Regions from separate parts of the Homo sapiens genome. Here region 2 is linked to region 1. Evidence: promoter capture Hi-C in human tissues and cell types (Jung and others, 2019). All regions are on one chromosome and are shown on one strand. Each heading gives the region's core, a stretch centred on a gene start or on the middle of the fragment in contact. The rest is flanking DNA. Distances are from core to core; before and after follow the strand shown.

Region 1 (3,987 bases), core at 543-3,042:
GCCTAGGTTGGTCTGAAACTCCAGGGCTCAAGCAATTCTCCCATCTCGGCCATCTCAGCCTGGGATTATAGACGTGAGCCTCTGCGCCCAGGCAGCCTCATCTCTGCTGCTCCATTTTACCTTTCCCTCGATCATTCTCCCTTTCATCCAAAATCAGGCTCGCAAATGAGATTCTCCAAAAGAAAGGAAAAAAAAAAAAAAAGGAACTCACCTCCATCCTCTTCCAGGCATAGAAATTAACTTTGGTGTCTGGGACAGTGATATTCTCATTCAAGCTGCAGTGTTCAGCACAGCCCGTCTGAAATGCACACAGCCCGGGGAGTCAAGGGTCCCTGAAGGCTCTGGCCCTGGCCCACAGGCCGTAGGATCTGCTGGCTTTGCTCCTTGCCTAGTTTCCAGGTATGGTTTGGGGCCACCAGACTTATTCTTATGTAGGGGGGCAGTGTCTAGCTTCCCAACTCCACCCCAAACCAAGTGCCAGGTTCCTGGATCTGGGAGGAGTTCCCTGAAGCCCTGAGCGTGAGTTCTGTGGAATGTGCTGGGGAAGGGGTCTCACCGTGATATTCTCGGCCTCCTTGGCCTCCAAGAGGTACCTCTCCAGGACTCGGCTGTCACAGATGAGGCGTGGTGGGGCGCCCAGGACTGGGAGGCCCAGAGGGAGCGACAGCAGGGACAGGAGAAGCCACAGCCAGGCAGGACATTCTAGAACAGATAGCCAGGCTGAGAGTCAGGCGGGGAGGGAGAAGGGTGGCTGTGGAAGGACAGCTTCCTTCATCCCCACGTCTCTGCCCCAGCTCGTCCTTCCTGTCCCCAACCATGCAAGCACTCAGGTGCTGCCTCCCTGGCCTTCATTCAATCCTGCTGCCGTGTGCACACCCCACCCCCAGCTACCAGCATCCACTTCTCCGGCCAAACTTCAATCCTGGTGTGACAGAGGCTTCCCCTCTGGCAGATAAGTGGTGGCTCCAGCGCCCAGGTTATCAGCTTATCAGCTTCCTCTCCACTGGCACAGCAGAACCCCCAAACCTTCTTCCCCTCAACCCCCAAACTGTGTCCCCTTCACAGGTCAGGTTTTTGCCATCCCCAAGGACTCCCCCAAGTCCCCGCTGGCACGTGGAGGCTGCCCCACCCCCCTCCCCCTTCCGGGGTCCTTGACAAGTCGCCGGTCCTTGAACCCAGCCACCTCCTGGCCAATAGCCGGGGCGCTAAATCCCCGCTCAAACAGGGACCCGGGCGGGCGGGAGCGCCCAGCCCGCGAGTACTCACCGTGCACCCCCATCTCCGCGCCTGGCCGGGGTCCCTCAGCGACCTGGGGCGCGCCGGGTGACCACACCGGGGGCCCTCATCCCGGGAAGCTCGGCGGTGCAGGGCCAGCCCCACGGGCCTGGAGGAGAGGGCGGCTGTCCAGGGGGCGCGGTGTCGGAGCAGAGCGGGCGCGGTGGCCCCGGTCCGGCTCCGGGAGGACAGCGCGGTGCGGCGCAGCGCAGCGAGCGGCCGGGGTGGCCCAGGGACTCTGCGGCTCTGGCCGGGGGTCGGGGCTGTTATCTGCATGTGTGCGTGCGCGGGTGGGGGTGGGGGAGAGGCTGTGTGCGTGAGGGGTCGCCAGGGGTAGGGGCCACCCGGGGTCAGAGCAGGGGCAGGACGCCTGGGTTGAGGCTCGCCGGGGCGTGAGCGGGGCTGCTGCAGACGTGCGTGTGGGTCATGGGGGCTGCTCCCGGGCCCTGGGTCGCGGGAGGGGAGTGCAGCCGGTTGCGCACCCTTGGGACTGGCGGAGCGTGCTATCTGGGAAAGGCTGGGCTCCCGGACACCTCCCCTGGGGGGCATCCCGGTCTTGGGCGGAGACTCAGAGATGCCTGGGTTGCTGAGTTCCGCAAAGTAGCTGGGTCTGGAAGCCCAGAAGCTTTAGGGAGGGGCAAATGAGTGGTCTCCCTTCCCACAATCCCAGGACATGTTCTAGAAACAATGTTGACCATGTTGAGGAATTTGATGGGGGCAAATAGGGCAAGAAATTTGGGGTTCTTCCTCCCCACCTCACTCCTCACCGTCTAGTACTCTGCAAACCCAGACACTTAACTTTTTTTTTTTTTTCTGGAGATGTAGCCTCCCTATGTTGCCCAGGCAGTGCAGTGGTGCCATCTCCCGTTCACTACAACCTCTGCCTCCTGGGTTCAAGCAATTCTCCTGCTTCAGCCTCTGGAGCAGCTGGGACTACAGGCACACCTTTACACCCGGCTATGTTTTGTATTTTTAGTAGAGATGGGGTGTTGCCATATTGCCCATACCGGTCTTGAACTCCTGACCTCAGGTGATCCACCCTCCTCGGCCTCTCAAAGTGCTGGGATTGCAGGCGTGAGCCACCGCACCCAGCCCCCACCCCAGACACTTAACTTTTAGTGCACAGAGCACACAGTCCATTGTGCAGGACACACATGCACCTTGACATCTGTTTATTTGACCTGTGGTGTAGGTTAGCTAGGCTGCATTGCTGAGTTCTTAAGAACACTGAAATACAGCTAACACCAAGAGTGATGGGGGCTGGGATTTACAGCTAAGGTTTTATGGCTTCTGGAAACCCTGAGCCAGAGGAGTGAGATTCCCAGAGCAGGAGACCAAGACTAGCTGGTCTCTCACACCTTAGAAAGTGGCCTCGTCCTTGAGCCCTCAATGTCCTCATCTGTCAAATGGGTGTGGTGAAACTACCAGCCTATCCCATTCAGGTTTCATAAAAGACAGGAAAGGTCCAGGCGCCGCAGCTGACACCTATAATCCCAGCACTTTGGGAGACCAAGGCAGGAAGATCCTTTGAGCCCAGGAGTTCGAGACCAGCCCGGACAACATGGCAAGACCTTGTCTCTAAAATAAATAAATAAATAAAAAATAATTAGTCAGGTGTGGTGGCTCACGCCTGTAGTCCCAAATATGCAGGAGGCTAAGGCAGGAGGATCACCTGAGCCCAGGAGTTCGAGGCCGTAGTGAGCCATGATCGTGCCACTGCACTGCAGCCTGGGCGACAGAGTGAGAGCCTGTCTCAAAAACAAAAAAAGACTGGAATGTGTAGATCTGAGCTGTAAGAGTTAGCCGGGAGAAATCAAGAAAGATTTGAGGGAGGAGGTGACAATGACCTCAGCCTTGAAGGGGGGTAGGACATCAATGGGAAGAGGTATGAGGTGGGTGGGGGATTGTCGATTCAGCAAAGTGAATGGAGAGTCAGGTGAGTATTGCGGGATCTGGCCAGCAGCCCGCAATGCAACAGGGCTCTCTCTTTGTTCCCAGGCGGATCAGCAGGTTGAGAAATAATAGACACACACAAGATAGTGAAAGCTGGTCCGGGGGGTCACCGCCTTCTGGTCCCGTGGTGTCAACAATGCACCAGATGTACCATCATTTATTATTAAGTTTAGTGAGGGCGGGGGTAGGTTAGTGAGGGATTTAGGGTCATTTGATTATGAGGTGAGATGGTCACATGGGGATGAATTAATTCTTTAACATAACATTTATATGTAGAAGTACAGTACATTTGTATGCAGAAGTACAGTATACAGAGATAAGAATTTACAATATAGTGTGTGCATCAGTAATTTCTAACAGAGCCTTAAAACAGAAACACAATCTTTCCATAACCTATGATTAGCAAGATACTAATCAGCAGTAACAATTGCAACAAAAGCTGGTTACAGACAATCCATGGAAACAGGACATGAAGCTAGACAACCAGTTAGACCAGAAATTCTCAGAAGGGAGTATGCCTTAACCCTAAAGAGGCCTAGAAGAGCCATGGCAAGATGAGGGCGTTTATAGCCCTATCTTATCCATATGGACAGGTGCCCCCCGCCCCCATGCGTCCGTTTATAGGCTCTCCACAAGGGTCGCATTCCATTCCCAGAGCTATGAACATCTGCTTTTCTGGGATAGAAATCTTGGTGATGTGAAACCTCCCTGACTGCAGGTCCGTTCATAGGCTCTCCGCAGGCGGAAGCACATCACAGG
Region 2 (3,987 bases), core at 638-3,137, 120 kb before region 1:
TGGCCTTGCCCAGGGCCCTACAGTCTGGGTTAAAACTCTAACTGCCTTTTTTTCTCTTTCTGACACGTAGGGTGTAAAGGGTTCAGGTAGCCTCAGGGCTGGGGCCGACATGAGTTTTTCTTTTAACTCATGAAAAGCTCATTGCTGTTGGTTGTAATAGATGTAGTTTATCTAATCTACATTTTTATTAACTGTCACTCACCAAAATATTGACTCAAATCCTGCAGCTATTTGATTTCAAGCTTTAAATTGATCTGGTATTCCTCATGGGACTCCAATTGCGTCTAAATAGACATGAGAGTCAAAAGACCCATAAGGGGCTTCTCTCGCTTTACAATGTCTTATTTTTTCTCCCTCTGGTTGATGAAATGCCAGGGTGAAAGGGATAGCCAATTGGACTAAAGTACAAGTGCCACTCCAGTTATTCGGCAGAGTGCCTAGTAAAGGTCCACCAAAATACCACCACACATCCGCTCAGGGATGAACAAGGGCTGACTGATTAATAAGCTCTTGAAAATTCTTAAGCTCATCGCATCCCTTCAGGTCTCCAAGGAATGCTAAGTTTCCTCCCTGTAGTGAGAGATACGAAGTGAACTTAGTGTTGGGAGACGGAAGCTGGATGGCCCTCAGGGGCTGACCCGCAGGGTGCCAGACTTAGGGATACAGCAGAGAGAGCTTGGCATGACTTATTACTCCAGGCTGTAGAATCCTGGAAAAGAGCTACCATGCAACCTACACCTGGTCGACTGGAGGACCACCTTAGTGGAAGGGGGACAGTCTGGGCCTCTGGCCTGCCATGTGCACAAGCATAACAATTGCTTTTGTTTAATGTGCAGATGGAATATTTGATCCATTTTAACTAGGCATTTGCATGTTGGTATCCTGTCTTAATTGCTAAAATTTGTTTTAAGTCTTTAACTTCTATGATCCTCTAGTAAAATTAATGTATGATTTTAGGAAATTATAAAAACCGGTTGGGGCAGTCCATCTTTGCTCTTTAATGGTCCACAGAACATTGGACCAACTATGGCATGAAAGCTCTACGTCGGGGGCAAGACTCTTCGTTGGCACTGGGGTCTTTATCGAAATCTCCCTGGATTAAATGGTCCTAGTTTACTAATGCCCAGTCTGAGGAGAGTCAGGAGAGACAGAAGTGCTTTTCTGAAGTAGAGAGCTGTCTTTGACTTGGCAAGTCCTCACAGGGTATAACAAAGCAATCATTAAATGCAATAGTTTGAGGAGAAATTGACTTGGTTATGTTAATAACTAGATGGTCAGCAATAGAATGAGGAAAGAAGAAAGAGTAATAGAATAGATGAAAAGAGTTAAGTTTTTCTTAGCTTTAGTTTGATAGGGTTTTCCTTTGGGACTATGGCCTACAACTCTGGAGGGGGTGGCACTTTCTTGACTCGGATGTGATGAGTCCATTCTTTTTTTTTTTTTCTGTACGAACAGCAGTCTTGGTGGTTAGCAGCACAAGGCAGGGTCCTTCCCAGGCTGGCTTGAGTTTTTCTTCCACAGTTTGATGAGAATATGATCTTCAGGCTGGTGCTGGTTTACCGGAAATTCTAGGGGTGGTACATGTGCTAAAAGACTTTTAGTTTTTGAGAGAAAGGAAAGTGGAAGGTAAACCAAGTATATGATTTTTAAGAAAATGTCTTTTTGTTTTAAATGTGGGGACCTTGGCCGTGGACTTTATAGTCCTTAGTGCCTTTTTACTGAGAAATTTCCTTTAGCACCTATTTTTATTAGTTTTTAAACTAAAGAAAGCCAAATTTTTTTTACATTTAACAATGCTTCTCGTATGATTTTCATACCAGATAAGCTAAATTTTATCTTTATATTCGTGTGTTATGAATGTTAAACCTAATTTTAATAAAACTTTATAGACATATTTATCTAATTTTTAATGTTTGACCATAAGGTAAGATTTTATAGACTCTTTTTAACTTTTTATAATTTTTGCTAAAGAGCAGGTTGGTGCTTTAAGAAAAACCTGTTATGCTTTTACTTTAATGTCCAGTTCACAGAAAAACTGGATGATACTTCTTTAACTTTAGCTAATATGTTTACATACAGAATTTTCTTTACAATTAACATTTTAAAACTTGCTTAAACTTTTAAAACAATAATTTGTTTTAACTTTTTAACATAGGTAAAAATGTACATTCTTATGCCTCCTTACCAAAGGTATATTTTACTTTTCTTATACACCTTGCACATAAACTGGTTTGTTTTTTTTTTTAAATAGTTTTACATTCAGGAGGCCTAGTTACTTTTAAATTATACTACATTTTTGCATAAATTCTTTTTTATAACTTTTTTTCTTTCATGGTTTTCGCAGACAATTCTTCGATATTCTTCAACTTTTTGACTTATTACAAATATTTCTTTCTTTAAACCAGTTAATTTATTTCAGGACAACAATTTACTATATAATACTCTTTTTATATAAATTCCACCCCCTAAGGAAAAAAAATTCTTTTTTCCTTAGGATACTTCTGAACTGGTGAGGTGTGCTCACAATGAGGTTTCCTCTAAAAGTTTTTTTTTTTTACTTTTTTTTTGTTGTTAGCAAAGCAGTTGCCGCTACAGACTGAATGCATTTGGGCCATCCGCGGGTCACTGGGTTAAGGATTTTTGATAGGAAGGCCTCAGTGCTTTCGGATACGGCTTTGTTTACACTGACAACAAAGTGGTATTGGAGTGTTACAGGGTTACGGAGAATACCTTCAATTATCAATTATAGGTTTTAAATTTACCTTGGCTTTTAAAGGAATAGGGTACACCTTTTTTTTTTCTTAACTGCTTGTATATCTCTCTTTCTTTCTTTCTTTGACTTTGTCTCTCTTTGACTTTCTTTTTGCCTCTGTCTCTTCTCTCTCTCTGCATTTCTTTCTCTCTGTCTTTCTCTCTCTCCTTGACTCCCTCTCTGTCTGTCTTTTCCTCTCTGTCTCTTCCTCTCTGTCTCTTTCCTTTCTCTCTTTCTGCTGGTCTTTCTTTGCCTCTGCCAGCCACTTATGCTGCTGTTCTCAACCGCTGTGTGTTGGGGGCGGGGGGTCTAAAACTAGCTGTAACCAAGTGTCTATGTACGGGAACTGGTCTGGGTTCCCTGGCTTACAGGTTACTTTGTGCCATACCTTTGAAACAAGGGACCTGTCCAGGCTTTTTTCTAATGGCCAACCTACCTCTAATGCTGGCCAGTCTATCTTACACAAAGTTTTAAGTTTTCCTCGTGTCATAGTACTCTATAGTCTCCTTTAAATTCTTTTTTGAAATTTTTCAACATAGTTCCTAGCAGGGTGGGCTTATTTGTGCCTGACCTATGCTTCTTCGACACAAAACACCACACTCACACCACACGCACACCACAAAACAAAGAACAGGTAAAAAGGGCACACACACACTTTCGCAGTTTGCACCAAACTAAAATCAAAACTAAAATCAGAGTATCTAGAAATCTAAGTTAGGTCAAAACCAAAACCAGAGTATTAAGCAATCTAAGTCAAGTCAAAAACAAAAACTAAAGTGCCGGTACAGGCACACCATGGGTGATCAGGCCACGCTTCCACTTAAATGCAGTGGGCAAGTTTCTTTTTTTTTTTTTTTTGAGACGGAGTCTCGCTCTGGTGGGGACTACAGGCACCCACCACCACGCCCAGCTAATTTTTTTGTATTTTTAGTAGAGAAGGGGTTTCACCGTGTTAGCCAGGATGGTCTCGATCTCCTGACCTCGTCATCCGCCCGCCTTGGCCTCCCAAAGTGCTGGGATTACAGGCCTGAGGCACCACACCTGGCCTGGAGTGGGCAAGTTTCAAAGACTAGTCTTACCAAGTTTTAGATGTCCAGACTCTAAGTGCCCGTTCCTTCCTGGTGTTCAGCCACTGTGTTGATCCTCCACAGGGGCCTGCCACACACTGCTCTGGCGAAGCGTCCTCCTGGGGCAAATGCCTACCAGGGAGCACTCTCAGGATCCGCGTCGCCCGG

The links. Contacts are between HindIII fragments. The study calls those that stand out against the background at their distance.
Region 2: a fragment that was not itself captured here is called in contact with the fragment with the promoter of EPO in region 1 in 2 of the 25 tissues and cell types used here (mesenchymal stem cells and neural progenitor cells).

The regions. Positions count from the first base shown.
Region 1 is chr7:100,718,273-100,722,259 of GRCh38, reverse strand. It overlaps EPO (erythropoietin), which reads right to left and starts at 1,792. Exons shown (of 5, transcript NM_000799.4): 1 at 1,267-1,792; 2 at 557-702; 3 at 212-298. The coding sequence starts at 1,279. The HindIII fragment of the contact is 31,866 bases long and covers 1-3,987 here.
Region 2 is chr7:100,839,573-100,843,559 of GRCh38, reverse strand. All of the region lies in intron 1 of SLC12A9-AS1 (SLC12A9 antisense RNA 1), which reads left to right. It also overlaps a transcript of SLC12A9 not described here. Among named protein-coding and RNA genes, the nearest start is that of SLC12A9-AS1, 11 kb to the left of the region's middle. The HindIII fragment of the contact is 3,742 bases long and covers 17-3,758 here.